Linked DNA regions of Homo sapiens: all the other regions are linked to region 3. Evidence: promoter capture Hi-C in human tissues and cell types (Jung and others, 2019). All regions are on one chromosome and are shown on one strand. The core of a region is centred on a gene start or on the middle of the fragment in contact, and the rest is flanking DNA. Distances in the headings are between cores, read along the strand shown.

Evidence for each region. Contacts are between HindIII fragments. The study calls those that stand out against the background at their distance.
Region 1: a fragment that was not itself captured here is called in contact with the fragment with the promoter of F2 in region 3 in 1 of the 25 tissues and cell types used here (dorsolateral prefrontal cortex).
Region 2: a contact is called between a fragment that was not itself captured here and the fragment with the promoter of F2 in region 3, in 3 of the 25 tissues and cell types used here (aorta, hippocampus and spleen).

Annotation. Positions count from the first base shown.
Region 1 is chr11:46,997,151-47,000,809 of GRCh38, forward strand. All of the region lies in intron 2 of CSTPP1 (centriolar satellite-associated tubulin polyglutamylase complex regulator 1), which reads left to right. LOC124902670 (a long non-coding RNA gene) reads left to right here and starts at 1,826. Exons shown (of 2, transcript XR_007062665.1): 1 at 1,826-3,659. The HindIII fragment of the contact is 3,277 bases long and covers 1-3,213 here.
Region 2 is chr11:47,118,726-47,122,019 of GRCh38, forward strand. All of the region lies in intron 3 of CSTPP1 (centriolar satellite-associated tubulin polyglutamylase complex regulator 1), which reads left to right. Among named protein-coding and RNA genes, the nearest start is that of ARFGAP2, 57 kb to the right of the region's middle. The HindIII fragment of the contact is 3,678 bases long and covers 1-3,294 here.
Region 3 is chr11:46,717,848-46,721,186 of GRCh38, forward strand. F2 (coagulation factor II, thrombin) reads left to right here and starts at 1,366. Exons shown (of 14, transcript NM_000506.5): 1 at 1,366-1,467; 2 at 1,855-2,015; 3 at 2,676-2,700; 4 at 2,943-2,993. The coding sequence starts at 1,389. The HindIII fragment of the contact is 9,646 bases long and covers 1-3,339 here.

The sequences.
Region 1 (3,659 bases), core at 325-2,824, 280 kb after region 3:
TTCCAACTTGGTTCTGTTCTCCGCATTACTTTCAGGTACACCAATCAGATGTAGATTTGGTCTTTTCACATAGTCCCATATTTCTTGGAGGCTTTGTTCGTTTCTTTTTACTCTTTTTTCTCTAAACTTCTCTTCTTGCTTCATTTCATTCATTTGATCTTCAATCACTCTTACCCTTTTTTCCAGTTGATCAAATCGGCTACTGAAGCTTGTGTGTGTGTCACATAGTTCTTGTGCCATGGTTTTCAGCTCCATCAGGTCATTTAAGGTCTTTTCTACACTGGTTATTCTAGTTAGCCATTCGTCTAATCATTTTTCAAGGTTTTTAGCTTCTTTGCGATGGATTCGGACATCCTCCTTTAGCTCGGAGAAGTTTGTTATTACCTATCGTCTGAAGCCTTCTTCTCTCAACTCGTCAAAGTCGTTCTCCGTCCAGCTTTCCTCTGTTGCTGGCGAGGATCTGCGTTTCTTTGGAGAAAAGGCACTCTGATTTTTAGAATTTTCAGCTTTTCTGCTCTGGTTTCTCCCCATCTTTGTGGTTTTATCTACCTTTGGTCTTTGATGATGGTGACGTACAGATGGGGTTTTGGTGTGGATGCCCTTTCTGTTTGTTAGTTTTCCTTCTAACAGACAGGACCCTCAGCTGCAGGTCTGTTGGAGTTTGTTGGAGGTCCACTCCAGACCCTGTTTGCCTGGGTATCACCAGCGGAGGCTGCAGAACCGCAAATATTGCAGAGGAGCAAATGTAGTTGCCTGATCGTTCCTCTGGAAGCTTTGTCTCAGAGGGGCACCCAGCCGTATGAAGTGTCAGTCGGCCCCTACTGGGAGGTGCTTACCAGTTAGGCTACTCGGGGGTCAGGGACCCACTTGAGGAGGCAGTCTTTCCATTCTCAGATCTCAAACTCCGTGCTGGGAGATCCATTACCCTCTTCAAAGCTCCGTTGGAAATGCGGAAATCACCCGTCTTCTGCGTCGCTCACGCTGGGAGCTGTAGACTGGAGCTGTTCCTATTCGGCCATCTTGGAACCTCCCCTTTTCCTCCCTTTCTTGATTCTTTGTGGTAAAGCTCTATATTGTGCCATTTTAGAAGCTGTATACTGTGCGCCTTGCACTCCAAAAGTGAATTCCACTTGTTCTGTGTAGCCAATGCTGAGCTGTAGTGAACCAACAGTAAGGCTGACTGTAGGCAGCTTTTATCTACCAACACACTGTTGAAAAAAAATCGTAAGATTTTCTACAGTGCTGATAGAAATGTACTTGCCAAGCAGGCTGTTTCTTGTCCCCAGAAAGCTGAAATTTACATAATATACGAGTGACACATACCTGACACTTCCATAAGTCTATGACACCAGATTGGCTTGAGGTAAATTATTCTAAGAAGTGAAAAGTAAACCAGCTCCAGAAACTTTTGGGTTTTCTTTTTTTTTGAAGACCTGAAAGGTGTGGATGTATGACAGAATGGGAAATAGTGTAAGTATAATTTGGTAGACAAGGAGACCTGGATGATGGAAGCTCCTGAGTTTACTTTGTGAATTTGATTTAGTTAGTGAAAATCCTTCACTTTCAGGCTTCAGTTTTTTTGTTTTGTTTTTTTTTGTTTTTTGAGATGGAGTCTTGCTCTGTCGCCCAGGCTGGGGTGCAGTGGCGCGATCTCGGCTCACCGCAAGCTCCGCCTCTCAGGTTCACGACATTCTCCCGCCTCAGCCTCCCGAGTATCTGGGACTACAGGTGCCCGCCACATGCCCGGCTAATTTTTGTTTTTTGTATTTTTAGTAGAGAGGGGGCTTCACCGTGTTAGCCAGGATGGTCTCGATTTCCTGACCTTGTGATCCGCCTGCCTCGGCCTTCCAAAGTGCTGGGATTACAGGTGTGAGCCACCGCGCCTGGCCTCAGGCTTCAGTTTTGTATTGATTAATAAGAGAAACATAGTGAAGTGGAAAGAGCACTACCCTAGAAGGAAAAAGAGCTGCTTATTCTTCTAAGTCCTCACTCTATAACCCTGGGCAAATTTCTGAAATATGGGCTTCAGTTGCCTCATCTATGAAGTGGGTTTAATAAAGCCTTACATGATAATAATAATAATATAATAATTATATATTATAATATGCAGTTTTTACTAAACTAATACCATGTCTCAGCTACTACAATTCTTTGAGATGGGTACTATTATTATTGTTATCTCTGTTTTATAGAGGAGGAAGTGGATGCTCAGAAAGATTAAAATAGCTTCTTCAAGTTCACAAGCTGTTAAGTGACAGACTCAGGAATCAAGCCTCATCTGCAGTATTATAGAGTCCACTGTTCTCTACTGCCTCCAAGCCACTTTACTGCTTAATGTTGCTAGAGGGCTAACCAGATCATATTTGGAGGTTTCTTCTAGCTATAATTTCTACTATTTTTGAATTCTCCCTTATGAACTATACTTTGCAAGCTTATCACACAGCCTTAGCTGGTGACCTCAGTTTACTGCCATTTAAATGTTTAATATGGCCTTTTGGGGGATGCAACTAGAGCTGACTATAAAGAGCAGGAAGCATGATTTTCAAAAATATGTTAACGGTATCCTTCCATCTTACAGTTTCGAGTTCACATCTTGAGACTTTCATATATTTAGCCGTGGGTGATTTACCTTTAAACAGTGATAAAAGTACTCCTTGAAATTGTATTTGGAAGGCTTCTCTTCTGATTTTCTTCTCTGGGTCTGCTTGCCCTCTCACCTATGCTGTCTGTCACTCCTTGGTTGTTGGTGTTTTCAAACAAGTCCATGACTGTTCCAGCAAATCTGGATAAACTGTAAAACACAAGTGGCTGAACAGTACTTTGTGTATGTCTGCAAGACCATGAGCTCTGTAGATCATATTCCTCTGGACACTCTTGAAAGACGGATACTAAATCCCAGAGGATTTTCTTTTATGTTGTATGTAACCTCTACCTCTGAATGTTGTCCTTCAACCAGTGGAAGGTAAAAGAAATTAATATTTAGAGGTGCTACTCTAAGAATAGGCCAAATGTCAGCACTGGGTCAGGACCTCTGAAGAAATACATCCAAGAAAATGGGCGAGAGTAGCTCTAACTTAGAAACCACAGCAGAGTGTGACCAGATTCTTGTGGTAAAGATAAAATGAGAAATGTGGCTTTTTGAGACATTGGAAAATAATGATGAGAGAAAAACAGGATGAAATCTGAGAATTTGTATCAGAATTGGGAACCATTCTTCACAGGCTAAATTGATAGTTCCAACACTATGGCATCAGGGAGCTTGACTTCCACATACTAATATAGAAAAGAATAATATTCTGTGGTCTTGGTTGGTGGGCCCAGGAGAGCTCGCTTTTATGATCAAGTGTCTTGTTTTCGTTTTTTAAAGGATGATTTTAGTTTTTTGGTGAAGTTTTTATGATGACTGTTTTGGTTGCAAGGGAAAGAAGTACACAGACTACCTTTGGTTTATTTTAAGGATACGTGAGAATATGCAGCATTCATTTGTGAATTATTCATTCACAAATTACTTTTGGGCACCTACTCTGTGCCTGTGTGTACTATGCAATGGGAATAGAGCAGTGAGCAAGACAAATAAGGTACCTATCTTTATGAACCTAGTGTTTTAATGAGGGTAATAATCAATAAACAAGCAAACTGATGGGGATGAGAATAGCTAA
Region 2 (3,294 bases), core at 404-2,903, 400 kb after region 3:
GTTGGAGTTTGCTGGAGTTCCACTACAGACCCTGTTTGCCTGGGTATCACCAGCGGAGGCTGCAGAACAGCAAATATTGCTGCCTGATCCTTCCTCTGGAAGCTTCGTCCCAGAGGGCAGCCACCTATATATGAGGTGTCTGTCGGCCCCTACTGGGAGGTGTCTCCCAATTAGGCTTCATGGGAGTCAGGGATCCACTTGAGGAGGCAGTCTGTCCTTTCTCAGAGCTCAAACGCTGTGCTGGGAGAACCACTGCTCTCCTCAGAGCTGTCAGACAGGGACGTTTAAGTCTGCAGAAGTTGTCTGCTGCCTTTTGTTCAGCTATGCCCTGCCCACAGAGGTGGAGTTAGAGGCAGTAGGCCTTGTAGAGCTGCGGTGGGCTCCGCCCAGTTTGAGCTTCCCAGCCGCTCTGTTTACCTACTCAAGCCTCACCAAAGGCAGATGCCCCTCCCCCAGCCAGGCTGCCGCCTCGCAGATCAATCTCAGACTGCTGCGCTAGCAGTGAGCAAGGTTCTGTGGGCGTGGGACCTGCCAAGCTTGGCACAGGAGAGAATCACCTTGTCTGCCAGTTGCTAAGACCTTGGGAAAAGCACAGTATTTGGGCGGAGAGTGTCCCGTTTTTCCAGGTAGTCTGTCACGGCTCCCCTTGGCTAGGAAAGGGAACTCCCCGACCCCTTGTGCTTCCTGGGTGAGGCGACGCCCCACCCTGCTTCAGCTCGCCCTCCATGGGCTGCACCCACTGTCCAATGAGTCCCAGTGAGATGAACCAGGTACCTCAGTTGGAAATGCAGAAATCACCCATCTTCGGCATAGGTCATGCTGGGAGCTACAGAACGGAGCTGTTCCTATTCAGCCATCTTGGAACACTGCCCACTTCTTTTTTTTTTTTTTTTTTTTTTTTTTGAGATGGAGTTTCACTCTTGTTGCCCAGGCTGGAGTGCAATGGTGCGAGCTCGGCTCACCACAACCTCCACCTCCCGGGTTCAAGCAATTCTCCTGCCTCAGCCTCCCGAGTAGCTGGGATTACAGGCATGCACCACCACGCCCAGCTAATTTTGTATTTTTAGTAGAGACAGGGTTTCTCCACGTTGGTCAGGCTGGTCTCGAACTCCTGACCTCAGATGATCTGCCCACCTTGGCTTCCCAAAGTGCTGGGATTACAGGCGTGAGCCACCATGCCCGGCCTTATCCCCATCTTAATGATGATGGAATTGAAGCTCAAAAAATTTAAGTAACTAACTTGCCCCAGATCATTTGTCTAGTAACCAGTGGAGCTGAGCTATGAACCCAGAACCCAGGATTGACTAACTCCAAAAAATGTGCTTTCAACCATGAGGACAATCCTAAGAGTCACCTGAGCTATTTAATTAAATGTGGATTCTCACTCTCTTGACCCCAGGGATTCTGATTTTGCTTCTGTGGGTTTAGGGTACAGGTGATTCATGATCATATGTTGAGATGCATTGAGATATACTACATTGCTTTTAGGGTTTCACATCTGTATAGGGAGGCATAGGGATAAAATTCATTGAACGTTTTTTTAACTGTGTACTGTGTGCCAGTCCCCTTGATATGTATAAGCAAGTGAGATGGAGTCCCTACCCTCAAGACTTGGTCTAATGGGACCTTGGAACCCTGCCTTGACTCTGTCAGACTACCTCACTTGAGCAAGCCACTTACTCTTTAAGCCTTAGTTTCTCTATCTGTAAAATGGAGATAGTCAATTACTTACTTCAGAGCAAAAGGCCTGATCTATGATCCTGTGATTCCCAAGGCTCTTTTAAGTTGTGAAGTCACAGGGTGGACTAACTTCCAATGCTGAGAACAATGATGGGGTGGTGATGGGTCAGATAGACAAATAAATCAATAATTCAACCACCAATAAATAGTGGAATATGTAAAAGCATGCGCTTTGGAATCTGGCAGATCCATGATTCAAAGCTCGAATGTGCTTGCCTCTTGCTAGTTACGTAACTGGGCAAATTACTTCACTGCCCTGTGTCTGCAAGTAAAATGAGGACAGTACTTACCCTATAGGACTGCTGCGAGACATTCAATGAGAGTAATGATGCACAGCACTCAGTACAGCAGCTTAAAAACAGGTAACACCATGAAGCACTACAGAAGCAGTGATCAATAAATGGTTTAGAGACAGTAAACATCCAAAGACGCAGAAGAGTTTTACAGTTTTACAGCCTACTATTTTATAGTTTAAATTTGGTTACATTTTTTGTTGTTTTTAATATAACTTACATGGAAATCTTTTTAAAATGTATATGATACGTATACAGTGGCCTTCCCTGCCATCTTATGTAATTTAACTCCTCTAGGCATCTAAGCATCATCTTTGTCATCATAAATTATTTTACTCTGCTGGAAAAGATCATTGCCTTCAGGACCCACTGAAATGTACCCTAAATGTATCCAGATTATATTTAAAATATATTTTTCTGCCTCTCTGTTAGGTCATGTAGTTAATGCCTAATTATAGTTCTTTTTCCTCTCCTTGTTTACCCTGTCTAATCTGTATTGGGCTTAGAAACTAGTGGCCAAGCTTGTTAAAACTGCGAGTATAATCAGAGTATGTCTTGGAACCCTGTAAGTTAGCCACACGAGCTTTTGTATGTGGACTTCATGAAATCTTCTTGCCTACTTGGAGACTTATTGACATTTAGATATTTGGCATTGCCTATTAGTTAAGTTTTAAATTGACTAGATATTACTGTGTAAGGTACAGATACCTGAAAAAAAATTCCATTATTCTCAGCTTTGGAAGTTGATCCAATCTATGACTTCACAACTTAAAAGAGCCTTGGGAATCATGGGCTCATAGGTCTGGCCTTTTACTCTCAAGTAAATAGCAATTGATTATTATCTCTTTTTTACAGACAAAGAAATTGATCCCTAAGTGTAAGTAGCTTGTTCAAGTGAGGTAGTCTGGCAAAGTCAAGGCAGAGTTTCAAGTCTCCCAAGCCTGCCCTTCCGCTCTGCCACACTGTTCCCAGGAGGAAACAATCATCTTAGGCTGTAGAAAGGAAGGAAAACTATCAATAAATATGGTTAAAGATTAGAAAAATGGCCCAGCACGATGGCTAATGCCTATAATCCCAACACTTTGGGAGGATTGCATGAGCCCAGGAGTTTGAAACCAGCCTGGGCAACATAGTAAACACAGTGACATCCCTACAAAAAAAAAATTGCTGAGCATAGTGATATGTGCTTGTACTCTCAGCTACTCTGGAGACTGAAGCAGAAGGATCACTTCAGCCCAGGAATTCGAGGGTGCAATAAGCT
Region 3 (3,339 bases), core at 116-2,615:
GGAGTACAGTGGTGCAATCATAGCTCACTGCAGCCTGGAACTCCTGGGCTCAAGTGATCCTCCTGCCTCAGCCTCCTCAGTAGCTCAGACTGCAGGCATGCACCACCATTCCCAGCTAATTTTTAATTTTTTTTTGGTAGAGATGAGGGTCTTGCTATGTTGCCCAGGCTGGTCTCAAACTCCTGGCCTCAAGCGATCCTGCCATGTCGGCCTCCCAAAGTGTTGGGATTACAAGTGTGAGCCACTATGCCTGGCCTAAAAATATATATATGAAAATATATAAGAAATGGGCCTCCCAGGAATTAAGGTGTTTGCGGGAGTCCTGGTCCCCAGTTTTTCTGCCAACACTCCCTGTTCCCACACATGACCTGGTCCAGACCCCAAACAGCCAGGCCCAAAGGACAGGTGAGGCGAGGCGAGAACTTGTGCCTCCCCGTGTTCCTGCTCTTTGTCCCTCTGTCCTACTTAGACTAATATTTGCCTTGGGTACTGCAAACAGGAAATGGGGGAGGGACAGGAGTAGGGCGGAGGGTAGGGTAGGACCAGAAGCCTCTCTAGGCCTGCCATGGGGCAGGCAGCCAGGGAGAAGGAGGGCCCCTCAGTGGAGACCCAGGGATTTCAGTAGCCCCTGTTCCGGGACAGGCGCAGGTCCTGGGAGGTGACAGAAGATAGACTAAAGGCCCAAGAGTCCCTGGACCTGACTCCTCCCAGGCAGCTGCCACACACAAACACACCTCCAGGCACCCTGGACAGGAAGGAGGAGAAATGGGCCCCTCCTCCAGTGGCTGAGAAGCTGGGGCAAATGTTGGCTGTTCCTATCCCTGGTGCATCCCATGGCGAGGGGCAACTTCCATCAGGCCACACCTTTTATCTTTGTCTCTATTTTTGATATCTGTGTATTATGATTATACAAACCCCCACATTGGCCTATATGTGCAGATCTGATTAAGAACTTACGATATTCCATGGACATTCCATTCCTAATCTCCTTTAGTCCTCACAACAAAGTATTATTCCCATTGTATAGATGAGGAAACTGAGGCACACAGAGATGACAAGCAACCACCGCTATATGTTAGGATTCGAAGGAGCTCCAGGAAAGTCTCATAGCCCCACTGGCCAGAATGGGCTAAATCTCAGAGGGGGAGGGTGGGAGATGGGGGTGACAGTGACCTTTTTTGTGACTCCTCCTAGACCATCCATCCCTGCTCCCAGGAGGACCTGTCCTCCCAGATGGTGGAGATGGACAGGAGGACTATCTACCCACCCGTCCCCACGGCCCTGACCCTCTGACCTCACCCTCTCCGCTGATTTCTTCATGTTAGTTCAACATTAACCCAGAGGGGTCAGGACAGACAATTCCTCAGTGACCCAGGAGCTGACACACTATGGCGCACGTCCGAGGCTTGCAGCTGCCTGGCTGCCTGGCCCTGGCTGCCCTGTGTAGCCTTGTGCACAGCCAGCATGGTAAGGGAGTGCTTGCAGGCTGGAACAGGCTGGAGGACTGGGGTGTGGGCCCATGGGCTGGGGTCTCCTGGCTGGACAGAGCACACAGAGCTGGCCCCTAAGTAGGTCTCAGCCCCAGGCGGCCAGCTTAGGGAAGAAGTCAGGAGCTCAGGGCTGGAAAGAGAATGGCTGCTTCTCTCTTCCAATATAGGGAGCAGGCTGGGGGCAAGGGGCAGTGTAGGAGGGGCACAGGGGGCCACATTTAGCAGCCTTCCAGGCACTTCCACCAGCCCAGACAGCCTCTCTCAGAAGCCAGCAGGGGAGGGTGGGCTTGCTTCATGCCCCCAGAATGGCCAAGACTGCCTGTTCCTGAGGCCGCTGTCCCATGACCCCCCCACCGCCTTACAGTGTTCCTGGCTCCTCAGCAAGCACGGTCGCTGCTCCAGCGGGTCCGGCGAGCCAACACCTTCTTGGAGGAGGTGCGCAAGGGCAACCTGGAGCGAGAGTGCGTGGAGGAGACGTGCAGCTACGAGGAGGCCTTCGAGGCTCTGGAGTCCTCCACGGCTACGGTGAGCCTGGGCTGCTCGGACGGTGCCGGGGCCTCAGACCGGGCCCAACTCTAGACACTTCCACAGAGAAGCAAGCGAGGAACGCCACAGCCCCTTCGCTGCTCACAGCCTCATTTCAACTCTGAGCCCCTCCTCACAGGGCTGGCAAGAGGAGCGGCCTCAGCCTTTCCTGGGGGTCTCTGTGCCTGGACTGTGTCCCTGTGCAGCTCCATGACATGGGGAGGCCTCCACAGTCTTCAGACATCCACCTGCCCTGGAGCTCTGTGTCCACATGGCCTCCTCAGCGGCAGACTCCCACACCACCCTTGAGGGGTGGGACTCTGGGGAGGCCACCACAAGCCCCCGGGCTCAAGACTCAGTGTTCCTGGAGCTCTGTGTCGCCTTTCCTGTCTGTAGGGCTCTGCCAGGGTCCCACTGCCCCCTCTCCTCCCATCTCCCCCAGCCTCTTTCAGTCTCGGTGTGTGTGTTGGAGGAACTCCCCTATCCTCAAATATTCTTCTCCTTTTGGAAACAAAAGTAGGAAACTCTGCCACAAACCTCCCCAGAGCCTGCCCCCTGCGTGACCAGGGTAAAGGAAAGTGTGAGGAGGAGACATAACATTTACTAAAACAACACAAAACAGGAGCTGCCGTAGCCTCACTCCCAGCCCTTGTTTTTCAGGATGTGTTCTGGGCCAAGTACACAGGTGAGCACCGGGAAGGATTTGCCCCAGGAAGGGAGGCCTGGGGACCCCAGTGAGAGAATTCTACCCAGAGAATCTTCTGCTGCACCTAGCCATCCACCCATCCACCCCTTCCCCACTCCTTCCTTGGTCCCTCCCATCTGTTCATCCATCTTTCTGTTTCTCACCAACATCCCATCCACCCTGACTCCAGCTCATCCTGGCCATACCCCAATCCCAAAGGTAAACACCTGGGTCTTTTCCAGCTTGTGAGACAGCGAGGACGCCTCGAGATAAGCTTGCTGCATGTCTGGAAGGTGAGCAACTGACACGGGTTTGGGGAGCAGGACATGGAGGGGAGCCTGGGAGAAGAGCTCAGGGGTGGGTTTGGAGTGTGGCTGGTGGAGGCCGAGGCAGTCCCCAGCATCTGACATTGCTCCCATTCCTGGGGTCAAGATGTCTCTTTGTACCTGGCTCTGTGTCTGGCATGCGAACGAATGAATGAATGAATGGACTAATGAATTAATGTTTTTTTTTTTGAGACAGAGTCTCGCTCTGTTGCCCAGGCTGGAGTGCAGTGGCACGATCTTGGCTCACTGTAAACTCCGCCTCCCGGGTTCAAGCAATTCTCTGCCTCAACCTCCCAAGTAGCTGGGATTACAG